5 separate regions of the Homo sapiens genome follow, and regions 2, 3, 4 and 5 are each linked to region 1. The links are contacts of gene promoters, found by promoter capture Hi-C in human tissues and cell types (Jung and others, 2019). All regions are on one chromosome and are shown on one strand. Each heading gives the region's core, a stretch centred on a gene start or on the middle of the fragment in contact. The rest is flanking DNA. Distances are from core to core; before and after follow the strand shown. Region 1 holds the start of NF2 (NF2, moesin-ezrin-radixin like (MERLIN) tumor suppressor). Region 2 holds the start of PES1 (pescadillo ribosomal biogenesis factor 1). Region 3 holds the start of SEC14L3 (SEC14 like lipid binding 3). Region 4 holds the start of SF3A1 (splicing factor 3a subunit 1). Region 5 holds the start of OSM (oncostatin M).

Region 1 (2,762 bases), core at 112-2,611:
CCCGGGAGGCGGAGGTTGCAGAGAGCCGAGACCGCCCCATTGTACTCCAGCCTGGGCAACAAGAGCGAAACTCTGTCTCAAAACAAAAAACAAACGAAAAAACACAGTAAATTGTCCCTATTTGACTACTAAGAGCTATTTTAAAATAGAATTTATTATCTAAGTACAGAAAGGTGTAATTATCCCCCCTACACCCGTTAGAACCCTTGATGACACTAAATAAATAATACATGAATACGGTTCAAAAATGGGCATCATAGAGTATAAAATAAAGAATGCTTTCATTTTCAACCCAAATTCAGCAATTTCATAGGATGCCAGGCTCAGCTCTAAAGCCTTATATGTATTCAGTGCGCTGAAATTCAACAACCTCACGAGGTAGGTATAACCAATAATAATTCTAGGCGGGGCGTGGTGGCTCACGCCTGTAATCCTAGCACTTCGGGAGGCCGAGGCGGGCGGATCACCTGAGGTTCGAGACCAGCCTGACGAACATGGAGAAACCCCGTCTCTAATAAAAATACAAAATTAGCCGGGCGTGGTGACGCATACCTGTAATCCCAGCTACTCGGGAGGCTGACGCCGGAAAATCGCTTGAACCCGGGAGGCGGAGGTTGCAGTGAGCCGAGATCGCGCCACTGCACTCCAGCCTGGGCAACAAGAGCGAAACTCCGTCCCAATAATAATAATAATTAATAATAATAATAATAACAATAATAATAATAATTCTAAAGGGAAGCAGAGGGATCTGGCGGGAAAGTGCCAGCAAACCTAACAGGCCTCCACAAGTGTCTTTAAAGTTTCATAGGGGTCGGTATATGTGATTAACTGCCAAAGAAGAATATTCGCCGTGTGTCCGAAACGCAGTCCCCTGGGGCGCCACACTCGGAGCCTACTTGAACCGAAGAGTCCCTCCCTGGGCCAACGAAGGACCCAATTCCCCTCGCCCCGGATCCAGCCTCTAAGTGGTTTCCCGGGTAAGGTCAGCAGAGGTCCGCCGCCTCAACCAGTCTTGTTAGAGTAGGCACAAAAGCATTCAGAGTGACTGCCACTGTAGCCACTCAACGCCGAGCCTAGGCCTGCTTTTTTTGCAGTTAGAGTGAAACTTTCCATTGGTGGAGTCACCCCAAAGGAGGCGGGACGGAGCGGGAAAGTCCTGCCTACCTTGGCCTTCCCAGCCAATCGCAGCATCTATGCGTCAGCCTCCGGTTCGGTTGCGCTGCGCGTAGTGGTCTGGGCGACCTGAGGGCGGGGCCGGGAGCAGGCCCCGGGCTGTGGGGAGGGTGCGCTTCCCGCGGGCGCGCGGAGTGAGGACGGTGACAGCCACGCGCGCGCGTACGCGCCCGATGCAGCGCGGCCCCGTGACCCTAGTCGGCCGCTGAGAGGCGCGCGGAGTCTGGGCCGCTGCCGTCTAGGGGTCCCGTCCCGAGGCGTCCCCGGCATCTCCGGCCCGAATCCCGGAGTGCCGGGTCGCGCCTGCACCGAAGGTCCCGGCTCCTGTGCCCTCCCTGCAGCCGTCAGGGCCCGTCCCCCAACTCCCCTTTCCGCTCAGGCAGGGTCCTCGCGGCCCATGCTGGCCGCTGGGGACCCGCGCAGCCCAGACCGTTCCCGGGCCGGGCAGCCGGCCACCATGGTGGCCCTGAGGCCTGTGCAGCAACTCCAGGGGGGCTAAAGGGCTCAGAGTGCAGGCCGTGGGGCGCGAGGGTCCCGGGCCTGAGCCCCGCGCCATGGCCGGGGCCATCGCTTCCCGCATGAGCTTCAGCTCTCTCAAGAGGAAGCAACCCAAGACGTTCACCGTGAGGATCGTCACCATGGACGCCGAGATGGAGTTCAATTGCGAGGTAACCGGCCGGCAGCCCCGACTGCTGCGGTGACAGTCGAGGTGGAAGCTCGAGAGGTTCTCTTTATATCATCTTATGGGTGTAGCTAGAGACGGGCAGAACCGGAAGGGCCAACTAGGCCCAAAACCTCATGTTAAAGATGATTGCTGCTTTTTTTCATAGGACTTTTGGGTTTTGGCATTTCCTGAAGGTTATTTTCATTCATTGTTATTGGAAGAAGCTGGATGCTCCTGTGATAGAAAATTCAGGATTTCAGTGTCAGGCTTAAGTTAGGCTTACGCTTAAAAGCTTGAAAGTTTATTCTTTCATTAGGTAATATTGTTATGTACCCAGGTATTAGAAGTTGCGTCTTGTTTATTGGAAAGCCAATACTTGTTTCCCTTTTCTAAAGCTTGCATATTCTGGGAAAAAAAACCCTTTGAAGAACGATATAACATCTCATACTTACTTTCCACATAGTTTCCAACATGATGATAACAGCTATCAATTGTTCAGTATTTTCAAAGTGCTAGACATTTGCACATTTAATCCTCAGAACAAACCCATTTATCTAGTAAATGGCAAGGTGGGGTTTTGAACCAAGCTCACAGCCCGTACAGTACTGCTTCTCAAGTAATTTAAGTTCTTGCTGCTAAAAGTGTGGTTTGTGGACCAGCAGCATTGGCAGCAGTAAGCAAGGGTTGGCATGCTTTTTCTGTACAGGACCACATAGTAAATATTTTCAACTTTGTAGACTAGAGAATCTCTGTTGGAGTTATTCAACTCTTCAACTCTACCATTGTAACACAAAAGCAGCCTTAGATAAGATCAGCTTCCAGCATGACAGCTTAAGGAACCCATTCCTCTGTAAAACTGGTGAAAATTCTTTTTTGTTTTGTTTCGTTTTGAGACAGAATCTCACTCTGTCACCGAGGCTGGCAT
Region 2 (2,762 bases), core at 171-2,670, 990 kb after region 1:
TATTAGGCCCATGCTAAGTCTTGGAGGTATAAAGATGAGTTTCAGACTGCCTTAAGAAGTTGAGTTTTCATTTATAGCGTTTTCCATTACCTTATGCCACACTTATCTCTGTCACCATGCTTATCCTTATAAATGTTAAGGGAATAAATAGTTCTCAATGGGGTACTCCCTGGGTATGTGCTGGGGGGAGGAGAGTTCAGCAATGTTTGGAGACATTTTTGGTTGCTGGGTGCTACTGGTATCCAGTAGGTAAAGGATCAGGGATGTTGCCAAATATCCTACTACACACAAGACAATCCTTCCCACAACAAAGACTCATCTTTGTTGATTCTGGCTCTGAAACCCAGCTTTTAAAAACTGTAACGATTTTGTTACATATCTACATCTGCAACTCAAGGGCAGGTTTTCCATCTTGTATCTTTGCAGTTCCGATGGCTAGCACTGGATACTCAATGTAGTGTGTTGGGTTAAGAACACTGGCAATAGAAACTTTCACTCTGAAAGAAACACTTAAGCCAACTATATATTCCTCATTCCCATTCCCTTCCCAGTCTTTTCATGTCACTGGGCCGATTCTCCATACAGCCACAAGAACTCCCTGAAAAACTCTAATCGTGTTACTCCTCCTTTTTTTCCTACTGCACGTAGAATAAAATCCAAGCTCTACACTATTCCTACTGCACTTAGAATAAAATCCAAGCTTACAGGCCTTGCACGATACAGTACGTGTCCAACCCCAATCTTATCAGATGCCATTCTTTTCTTGGTTTACATGCGAGTCATCCTAATGTCCTTCCAACTCCTTACACACAGCAAGCCTTCCCTGCCTACTGATCTTGGCACTTGGTTTCCCTTGTCAGGCCTGCTCGCTAAGCACTCCCATGCCCCAGAACCCATCCAAGACGTTCTGATCTTTCCCATTTCAGCCGAAATGTTATGCCTCGAAGAGAACTTCCAAGACAACACTAACCAACTAATGTAACGGTGCAGTAACGGTGAGCTCTACGTAATGTTTATCACCCTTTCGGTAAATAGTGGTCCCACGGCTCGGCCTGCTTTTGGAATGAAGCTACGCTTGGTAAGTTCAACTCTCTTTCACAGCCCTCTCCACAGAAAGAACTCTGGAGTTCGTTCTCGGATTTCACTAAACGAATACTGCCATCCTTGTCCATTCTCGGACCCCTTCTCGCAGCTGATTACGGTCACGTCGATCCCGTCTTTCCAGTCTCCACGAGACGGAGCCCGGGAAAAGAGTCGACCCCATGCTCTGCCGCCCCCGCACCCCACCCCTCGGGAATCCCCACCGTCTTTCCCAATCACCTTCTTCTTCTCAAGGCCTCCCATCGCTCCACGTTGAGGAGCCGACTAGGGCCGCGCGTACAGGGAGCTCCACTTCCTCCCGCACGTGCCCTGCCAAGGACCCCGAGGACCCTCCCCACCCCACGCTGTCTGTTTGTGCGGGCTGCCCAATGAGATGCCTGTACAAGTCCAGGGAAAGATGGGGATTTCCTCCTCAAGATTTAAAACTATAGTCTGAAAAAAATCACTGAGAACACTCTTTCCAGATCTTTCCCGCTCACAATGGTTACAAACACTTTAAGTGTTAAAACAAACGTGGATATACAGGCTTTTCTGTAATCACCCTGATGACGATTCATTGACTGTGAGCCTCGTTGCATGTTGGGACGGAGAGGGGCGGAAGGCTTAGGGACAGCGCGGTGCCTTCTGGGATGCAGAGGGGCGCCGCACTCCATGGTGCGCGATAGGATTGCGTTGTCAAGGTAACGGTTGCTAAGCGTCGTCAGACTTCGGCTGCCGCTGCTGAGAAGCGGTTCCCGAGGGGCAGGGTGAGACTGCGCTGAGTTCCCACCGGCTTCGGGTTCTCTTTGGTTCATTCGCGGTTATGCGGCTAAAATAGAAAAAAGGAAGACATTTTTCCTCGCGGAGGTATAGAGATCCTAGAGGCCACTTATATTTTCTGAGCCTTAGTGGTGGACTCGTGGTATATTTAAAATGTACATTCAAGGCTGGGAGCGGTGGCGCACGCCTGTAATCCCAGCACTTTGGGAGGCCAAGACAGGCGGATCATCTGAGGTCAGGAGTTCGAGACCAGTGTGACCAATATAGTGAAACCCCGTCTCTGCTAAAAATACAAAAATTAGCTGGCCATGGTGGCACACGCCTGTAATCCCAGCTACTCGGGAGGCTGACGCAGGAGAATCGCTTGAACCTGGGAGGCAGAGGTTGCAGTGAGCCGAGATCTTGCCACTGCACTCCAGCCTGGGCGACAGAGTGAGACTCCATCTCAAAAATAAATAAATAAATAAAATTAAATGTACATTCAACATATTCGAGCTTTTAATTTGTACACATAAATTCTGTAAGTGTTCCTCAAATAATAATTCCAAGATTTATACAAATAGTCACATCACCTTGAGATGGTGCAGTCTGGAAGTAGATGCAATTTTAAGAGGTTTTTTTTTTTTTAAACGTTTCTCCCTTTTTCCAAATTCCAAATTTCGTTCGAAGATGATCTCAAAAGTTTAAATTTGAGGCTCTTGTGAATGTGACCTGGCCCAAGGACTTGGTCTTAGAACTTACACAGAGACAGACGTTAAGCACTGGTGAATACTTGTTTTGAACTATGTGACTTGCACTATCTAATTTAAAGCTAAAATTTAAAACCCAGCAATTCCACAGTTAAAAATGAGATGAAGCCGGGCACGGTCGCTCACACCTGTAATCCCAGCACTTTGAGAGGC
Region 3 (2,762 bases), core at 85-2,584, 870 kb after region 1:
AAATGGCCCACATTGATGAAAGGATGGGTTAATGGTTGAATAGAAGGGCAGATGGATCACTGGATAGGTGGATGAATGGAAGGAGGATAGATGGATGAATAAATGGTTAGAAAGAAGAATAGATGGGTGAGTGGGTAGGTAGATGGAAAAAGGGAGAAGAAATCAATGGATGAATGGATAGATGGATGGATGGAGAGTGGGTGGGTGGATAAATCAGTGAATGGACAGAGGAGAGATGGGTGGGTGATTGAGAGAAAGAAAGATGGATAGGTGGCTGCGTGGGTAGGAAGAGGGATGGGTGGATGAAAGAAAGGATAAACAGCCAGGTATGGTGGCTCACGCCTGTCATCCCAGCACTTTAGGAGGCTGAGGTTGGTGGATCACCTGAGGTCAGGAGTTTGAGACCAGCCTGGCCAACATGGTGAAAACTCATCTCTACTAAAAATACAAAAATTAGCCAGGTGTGGTGGCACATGCCTGTAATCCCAGCTACTCAGGAGGCTGAGGCAGGAGAATTGCTTGAACCTGGGAGACAGAGGCTGCAGTGAGCTGAGATCGCTCCACAGCACTCCAGCCTGGATGACAGAGACTCCATCTCAAAAAAAAGAAGAAAAAGAAGAAGAAAGGATAAATAATTGGGTGGATGAATAAGTGGATTGGAGTTTGGATGCATTCTTAGTTCCCTCCATGTGTTAGCCCTCAAAACATCTGCTTTTTTTCATCCCATCTTCTATTAAAACATGGTTAATAATTATATGTCCTCTTCTTCCTTTAGCTCTTTGAAAGACAACACTTTCTGCTCTGTCTCTTGGGCTTTTACAGACTGGTCATCTTTCAGGATCCCAAAGAGGAAGGGGTTAAAGGGCAGACCAGCAGCATCTTTCAGCTCCTACCTATGGTGCCTGGGAGGGAGGAACGGGGGTACCTGGCTGCCAGGTAAACCTCTCTGGTTCTGGCTCCTGGATGAGAAGAAGTCAGGCTTGACTTGGGTGGGCACCACCCACGTTATTGCCTGGAAGTGGTGCTAGTCCCTCAACCCCCGCCCGGGACAGGGTTGATGTTACTGGGCACCGTGGGGCTTGACCCTTTGGGAGGTAACACCAAAGAGACAATGTCAAGGACATGCTGAATCAACTGAGTGGGGCAGGATTCCAGCCACTTCTTTCCACCCCCCAGCCCCTTTCCCCTGGTCTTCCGGAACTCCAGGGGGAGGGGCTCTCACCTTGGCCAGGGTCTCTGCCTGTTTGGGGCTCAGGTCTCCAACTCGGCCGCTCATGGTGCTGGCTGGGGCTTGAGGAGTGGTGGCCACTATAGGCAAGAGGCCAAGCCTAGTTTGTCAGCCCTGACCCAGCTGGGTCCTTTTGCCCCCACTCCTGGGCGTGGCTCCAAGCGCCTCCTCATGGGCCAACTGTTTAAATTGCAGATTACATAATTGGGATTAAGTGAGGTCCCCTGCTTGGCTTGGGGACAGATCTGGAGGGGCAGGCGGGCATGGAGCGTGTGCCAGAGGTCCCCTGCCAGGAGGAGGCAGCTGGGAGGAAGGGAGGCTGGCCTCCCGTGACCTTGGAGCCCAGAGTGAGTGCCTGTAGAACCCGCTGACCCTCCCAGGCCTCCAGTGACCACTGCCCTGGAGAAGGGGGAGTTTCAGGAGAATGAGGACCGCTCCTTGTGGGTACCCTTTCTCCCTGAGCCCCAGTCTTCCCACACTTAGGATTCTGCAAAGATCACCCCCCTCTACCCAGCTCTGAAAGGGTAGGATTCTGAGGCTTGGTCAGTGTAGTAAACAGTTCATTCACTTTGTTGGGGGTGGGAGGCCCAGGTCCTTCTTTTGTGTCCACAGTCAAGAAGAGGACAGATGGCATCTTTTGAACGTCACTTGCTTCATTTATAAAATGGGGCCGTTAATGTTTGCCTTCCCCTCCTTATGTGGTTAGAGGGAAGATCTAATGAGACATAGGGACTGTCAAGGGTTGTGTGCATCTGAGGGATACTCTCCTTCAGCTCTCCTGGTCCCCCCTGGAGCTGTAAGCTTCAGCTCCAGGAAGGGAGAGACCCTGTTATCCATGACTCTCTCTGAAGAAACCATCAGCTTGAGGCTGCAGCATGGCCACATGGCCACATGGCCACATCTCAGCCTTGAGGGGGTCTGCATGGGCTGAAACCAACCCCGGGCTAGCCTCGGCCCCAGCAGCTGGGCTAGCCCACACCATTCTGCCTAGGGCTTTTCTAGGTCCCCTACTCCTGGGGCATCCTGGGTACCCACCCCTGAGCTACAGTGGGCCTCTATTCTGGGCTAACCCAGGGTCTCTTTAGGCTAGTAGATGTTGGTCAGTATCAGACATCTTCTCAGGGACATCTTCCTTGCTCTGGGCTCCTCACAGAGTTGGATCCAGAAGGAGAAGGCAGGGCTAATGCTGGCCATTTCCCTCTGCCTGGGGAGCCCGTGGCATGTACTCAGGAACAGTTAGGTAACTCTCCACACCCCAGCCCTGCCCCATTTCACATTCCAGCCTCAATTTCTGCAAAGCCCCAGCTGCTGTCTACACCCACTTCCTGCCAGGCCAGTAATGTACAGAGATTGGGTTCCTCCACTGCCCTTTCCCGAGCCACTAATCCTGCCCATTTCTCACCAGTCTCCTTTCTCACCCTAATCCCTATAATGTGAGGTGTGCTAGTTACTTCTAGGGGCATCGGAGACTGTGAAGGAGAGCCAGGAGGGAGGGTTGGGGGTCTCCTCAGGAGTTGTGAGCCTTCACACTGAG
Region 4 (2,762 bases), core at 112-2,611, 750 kb after region 1:
CAAATGTCACTATTTGGCTTAAAACACTCCCTTTTCTTCCCACTGTCTACAAGGAAAAGTTCAAATCCTAAGTAAGAATCGCATCTCCTGCCACTACGCTCCTAAGTCTATGCTTCAACACTTGTTCATTTACTCTTGATCAGAGACACCGTTTGATTCACCTCGGTGTCTTTGCGCATATTATCTGGCTATTACCTTATTTTCCCCCAATGCCTGGGAAAATGCCAGGGACACACGGGCACTTAAATATTTGTGGAAAAGGCATGGCTTCTTCAGTCATGTTCCCCCCCCCCGCCCCCCTTATTCTGAACCCAAAGCAATGATCAGCGTATGTGTTCAATAAATATTTGCTGGATGAATAAAGGATGCTATTTCCCTTCCCTAGTCACCTACCTGGCAAACTCCTATTCCTTCTTCTAAAAGAAATTTACCTCTCACTCTTGTGGGCTTCCCTACCTTAATATCCCTTCTAGCCCAGCAAACAATGTTCATTAGATTTGTACCTGAAACTTCTATCACAGGGCATATCACACCATACTACAATGGTTTGTGCACATTCGAGATTGGAGAGCTTTATTAAGGGCGGGCTGGCACTGTATCATCGATGGCCATTGGGACAACAAACATTTGGTGAGCATTCTCATATGTCTGTCTTCTCGTTAGCCTGTGAGCTCCCTAGGCAGGGACCATGCCCCATTCATTCCGGTAATGTGGGAGCCTGGCACGGTGTCTGGCTTGGGGCAGACACCGAAATAGATGCTGAGAATTAACATCCAAAGATGTACCGTGCAGGCTGGGAAATTAGCCATTACTGGGGAAAGGCTGTGGCCGGCGGCCCCAACTGCTACATAAGATCAGAGGATGGGCTGGATCAGCGCCTCTCGCACTTATAAATCAATCACCTTAGGATTTTGTTCAAATGTAGATTCCTATTTAAAAGATCTACGGCGGAGACTCCACATTTCTAAGAAGCTCCCGGCTCGTGCCGACGGGGCTGCTCCGCGGACCACTTAGAGAATCCCGTTCAGGGTGGCTCATTTCGCTACCAGAACACCACCATAGCGCGGGAAGCGCGCAGCCTCTTGGGACTTGCAGTCCCTCCAAGCCCTTCATAGCGGCCGGCCGCTTATTCCTGTGCGAGTAAGGAGCGCCCAGGCCAACCCTCCGGCTGCAGGCTGAGGGGCGGGGGAGAGGTACCTGTTTGGGCTCCGTGGGCACGGGCGGCGGCGGGGGCACCGCCTGCACGGGTCCGGCCGGCATGACTGCGACGCTCAGGGCTGCCAGTCCGCCTCGGTGTCGGTGAGCGGTGCCGCCTCAAGACAGCCTCCCCGCTCGGTCAGTACGACGAGCTCGCAAGATGGCGGCGGCCGAGCGAGTTGCGGCCGCGAAGGTACGACTGGCGCACTTCCGGGACCGTCCCCTCGCCGTGACGCGCTTCCCGCCCCTCCCCGCGGGCACCGCGGCGTCCGACGCCGTTGCCAAGGCAGCGGCCTGAGCGCCCGGCTAGGGCTTTTCGGGGATCCCGGTGGCCGCAGGCGCACCGGGGGCAGTTCCGGGAGCCGACCAGACACGAAGGCTGAAGCCGCGACGCCGAAGACAGGTGAGATGTTGTACGTCACCCGCCGGACCCCCGCCGCACTCACCTCGCGGCTCCTTTACTCCACAGGCCAGTACCTCGCTCCCTTCGACCCCGCCTTCCAAGAGCCCAGCTCCCTCCCATTGGTCTCTCATTTAGGAGAGCCCCTGTCCCCTCAGGCTCACCGCCTAAGAGCCCCACTTCCCTACTCCCTTAGTCCCCCCTTTCATTTCAGACCCACATCCTCCAAGCCCCGCTTCCAAATCCTACGCCCTTAATTCGCTTTTCCCACGGAACCTGCCTTTTCTTGCTTCCATCCCCTGCCTTCCGTAGTCCCGCCCTCAAGCCCCACTGGGGGCCTCCCTCTCAAATCAAGGCTGCTGCTTTCTTTGTCTTTCTTTTTTCTTTTTTTCTGAGACAAGGTCTTGCTCTGTCACCCAGGCTGGAGTGCAGTGGCGCGATCTTGACTCTCTGCAACCTCCGCCTCCCGAGTTCAAGCGATTCTCCTGCCTCAGCCTCCCGAGTGGCTGGGACTACAGGCGCCCACCACACCCGGCTAATTTTTTTTTTTTTTTTTTTGGCATTTTTAGTAGAGACGGGGTTTCACCATGCTGGCCAGGCTGGTCTGGAACTCCTGACCTCAAATGATCCGCCCGCCTCGGCTTCCCAAAGTGTTAGGGTTACAGGCGTGAGCCACCGCGCCCGGCCAGTTTTTAAATTTTTTTTTTTGTAGGGACATGGGAGGACGTCTCCCTATGTTGCCCAGGCTGGTCTCAAACTCCTGGGGTCAAGCGATCCTCCCGCCTTGGCCTCCCAAAGTGCTGGGATTACACGCATGAGCCATCACGCAGGGCTGCTGCTTTAGGCTTCACCCCTCACTCTCACAGATGCAGCCCTGCAAGCTATGCGGCTCGCTCCCCAGAGGCCTACCTCGAATCCCGCCGGCTTCTCTCCCTCTCCTGCGATTCCCCCCTCTCTCCTTCCTCCTCTCCTCAACTCTGGAAAGCGGGGAGCTGGCTCCGAACCTGTTCCTGGACTTCAGTTTCCTCACCTGTGAAATGAGGGAGTGATAGGAAAGGTTGCTCTCTCAAGTCTTCCCCCTCCCCCCACACACATCGTAGCTGTGTGTCATGGTTGTTATTAATGTAGAATAATGATAGCTGGGATGTATTGGTCATTTACTATG
Region 5 (2,762 bases), core at 132-2,631, 660 kb after region 1:
TCTAACCTCGGGAGCTGACTCTCTGCAAGGTGGGACTGGCTCCCTGCAAGACCACTGGGCTAAAGACCGGCCACTGCCCTAGGACCTGCCTTGTCAGCTGCTCTGGCCATCCAGGTAGATGGGCCTGAGAGGGCTTCAGGGCAGGCAGCCCGGGAGCAGCTTGTGTCCTCAGCTCTGTCTAGAACCAGGAGAGGCTGCCTTTTCAACCAGAGGTGCAGCCTGGAACAGATGTGGAAGACCTTCCAGTCCATGTCCCCACTTTCCTGACAGGTAAACCAAGTCTCAGGAGAAGGTCCTACTCAGGTCACACAAGGCCAGGGCTCTCCCCTGACCTCTCTTGCCTCCCTCCTCTCTCCATAAGTGGCTCCTTCTGTCAGGCCCACCAGGGATGCTGTGAGCCTGTCAGAAGGTGTTGGGGGCGGGTACAGTTACCGCTCACCACCACCCCCAACGGGGCACCGGCAGCCACGTGGTCGGAAGGGGCCTATGGCGCAATGGCCCGGAAGGCAGTGACACCATCGTTCCCGTCCTAAGAACCATCCGGCCCTTTGGGGAAGACTGGCTGTTGGGGAGGGCCAAGGGGCCAGGCACCCAGGCTTAGCGACCCCACGGCACCCTCGCCGCCTCCCCAGGTATCTGCTGCCGGGCTCTGGCAGGGGCCTGTGCCTGTGGCAGCGCACGTGGGACTGGGGTTTCTGTGTGGCTGTGCATCTGGGTCTGTGTGCGGCGTGAGGGAGACCTGTTCCGTTCACCATGGGGACTCTGGTCTGCATGTGGGGGTTCCTGGGCTGGTGAGATCCAGGGCTGTAGATGACGTCATATGGCTGTGTGCGCATGTGGCCATGTGGGTGTGGCTGTGCATGCTGTGTGATTGTGTGGGCCCTGGGGCCCCCAGGCCTGGCTGACTTTCTATTCATCCCGGGCAAGCTGGAGGCCCCACAACCCCTCCACACCTCACACCACTTCCCTGCCCAGCTTCTGAGCCTCCCTCTCCTGCCCAGCCTCTTTGCCCATCCTATTCTCTCACCCCCTGGTTCCCAGAGTTGCCTCTACATCTTGACATCACCTCCCCCTGGAAGCCTTCCAGGGATGCCCCTTCTCTACCTGTGGAGATGCCAGGTTCTCAGTGGACCACTCTCTCTGCCTGACCTCCTGGCTCTCTCCCCTTCTCAGCATCCTTCTGCCTGGCGCCTGGCCTCCCCAGTTCCCGGAGGGCAGAGGGTGCCTCTGCTCCCCACCGGCACCCGTGGGCAGACCCAGCAGGCGGGTTCTGGCGGGGAGGAAGGAAGTACTTACTGAGCAGCGTCCTCTGTGTGAGCAGTACCCCCATGCTGGGTGCCCGTGCTCCGGCCCGCGCCCGCTGGGGGTGACACCTCTCGGCTGGGAGCCCTGCAGGCTGGCAGCCACTTTATGCCCGCTGGGGCGATTGGCCAACACCTCATGAGGTGGGTGGGGATGGGGAGGGGGGAGGGCAGGCCTTCTGGGAACATGACCCCAAAAACCAAAATTTCCACGGGCGGCCAATGGGCGCAGGGCGCGGTGTATGCCCGCTCCTCCTCCTGTTTTCTTCGAATTCGTTCTTCGAGGTCAGCCCTACGCCCAAGGATGATGTAAAACCGCAGCCTCAGCCTTCCTAGGGTGAGTGGGGAGGAAAAGGGTCCATGCCATCTTCAGGGAACTGGGCCAGGGATGGGCAGGAGGGACTTCGAGCTGGGCCTCTGGAGGCCCCAGGCCAGTCTTGGCCCAGGAGCCATTGGCCTCACAGGACACGGTGGTTGGGGGCTGAGGGGAGCGAGACATCTTCCTTCTTGAGTGCCCTTCCTGCCCTCTCGCCGGGGCTGTTGGGACATCTGTGAGCGGAAACCACCGGGCTCTGGGCACAGAGCCAGACGCAGGCTGGCAGCCCCGAGATTGTGGTTCAGGCCCCAGGACCAGCATCCCCCAGCCCGGCTCCCGACGGTCTCCTTTCCCCCATCGTGCACCCTCTGCCAGGCCCACTCCCCAAAGCCAGGCCTTGTCTTTGTAGGCAGGCTCCACTGGGGAGAACTGGACACTTGGAGCAAGAGAAACAGGAGGCCAGGGTTCAAGCCTGCTGAGGTGCTGTGTGACCTGAGGCAAGTCACTTAACCTCTCTGGGCCTCAGAGACCCACAACTATAAAATGAGGAGGAGAAAAGCCTTTCCCAGCCCACCTCACAGGGTTGCTGCCAGCATGGACATAAAAGGAAAAGACCTCTGAAGGAAAAAGCAAAGATGAAGGTCTGATTCCAAGTATTAGCTGTCGAGGGGGCGGGATGGGGGAAGGAGGAGATGGGGAAGCTGTGAGCTCAGAGGGGAAGCCGGGGAGGGGGAGTTGCCGCCTTGACAGTTGGGGACCAGGTTTCACTTTCTCTGAAAGATAGCGATCTTAGGTTGGTCCTCTGCGAAAGGGCCCTGGGAACAGCGCCTCCCTAGTCAAACTGCTACTTTACTGTGGGGTAAACTGAGGCCTGGGTGAAGGCAGACAGGGAGGCCAAGAGGCTGGCCCAGGCCTATAGACCCTGCCTGGTCAGCACATCTCCCAGGCCCAGAGGAGGGTCCTTGGCCTGCACCCTAAGAAGCCCGGGTGGGAGGAGGCCCTCAGGAGTCTGGGGAGTCAGGGTGGGACTCCTGGAGGCTGCCAGGGAGGCCTGAGCTGCTCCAGCTGGAGGGAGCATGGGGTCTGGGGCGCCTGAGCAAGGAGAGCTGGGGCAGCCAGAAAGGAGGAGGTTGGATGCACCCCTG

What was found. The method cuts DNA at HindIII sites, captures the fragments that hold promoters and counts their contacts. A contact is called where the count stands out against the background at its distance.
Region 2: the fragment with the promoter of PES1 here is called in contact with the fragment with the promoter of NF2 in region 1 in 1 of the 25 tissues and cell types used here (lymphoblastoid cells).
Region 3: a contact is called between the fragment with the promoter of SEC14L3 here and the fragment with the promoter of NF2 in region 1, in 2 of the 25 tissues and cell types used here (bladder and lymphoblastoid cells).
Region 4: the fragment with the promoter of SF3A1 here is called in contact with the fragment with the promoter of NF2 in region 1 in 4 of the 25 tissues and cell types used here (IMR-90 fibroblasts, dorsolateral prefrontal cortex, lymphoblastoid cells and 1 more).
Region 5: a contact is called between the fragment with the promoter of OSM here and the fragment with the promoter of NF2 in region 1, in 1 of the 25 tissues and cell types used here (heart left ventricle).

The regions. Positions count from the first base shown.
Region 1 is chr22:29,602,272-29,605,033 of GRCh38, forward strand. NF2 (NF2, moesin-ezrin-radixin like (MERLIN) tumor suppressor) reads left to right here and starts at 1,362. Exons shown (of 16, transcript NM_000268.4): 1 at 1,362-1,841. The coding sequence starts at 1,728. RefSeq lists an enhancer at 748-877 and a silencer at 1,128-1,707. The HindIII fragment of the contact is 17,440 bases long and covers 1-2,762 here.
Region 2 is chr22:30,590,490-30,593,251 of GRCh38, forward strand. It overlaps PES1 (pescadillo ribosomal biogenesis factor 1), which reads right to left and starts at 1,421. Exons shown (of 15, transcript NM_014303.4): 1 at 1,321-1,421. The coding sequence starts at 1,344. RefSeq lists enhancers at 1,249-1,964, 1,444-1,743, 1,964-2,043. The HindIII fragment of the contact is 28,649 bases long and covers 1-2,762 here.
Region 3 is chr22:30,470,683-30,473,444 of GRCh38, forward strand. It overlaps SEC14L3 (SEC14 like lipid binding 3), which reads right to left and starts at 1,335. Exons shown (of 12, transcript NM_174975.5): 1 at 1,223-1,335. The coding sequence starts at 1,276. The HindIII fragment of the contact is 19,065 bases long and covers 1-2,762 here.
Region 4 is chr22:30,355,533-30,358,294 of GRCh38, forward strand. It overlaps SF3A1 (splicing factor 3a subunit 1), which reads right to left and starts at 1,362. Exons shown (of 16, transcript NM_005877.6): 1 at 1,198-1,362. The coding sequence starts at 1,260. CCDC157 (coiled-coil domain containing 157) reads left to right here and starts at 1,475. Exons shown (of 12, transcript NM_001017437.5): 1 at 1,475-1,600. RefSeq lists a silencer at 1,059-1,308 and an enhancer at 2,244-2,762. The HindIII fragment of the contact is 21,616 bases long and covers 1-2,762 here.
Region 5 is chr22:30,265,470-30,268,231 of GRCh38, forward strand. It overlaps OSM (oncostatin M), which reads right to left and starts at 1,382. Exons shown (of 3, transcript NM_020530.6): 1 at 1,297-1,382. The coding sequence starts at 1,330. RefSeq lists enhancers at 546-625, 686-785. The HindIII fragment of the contact is 14,267 bases long and covers 1-2,762 here.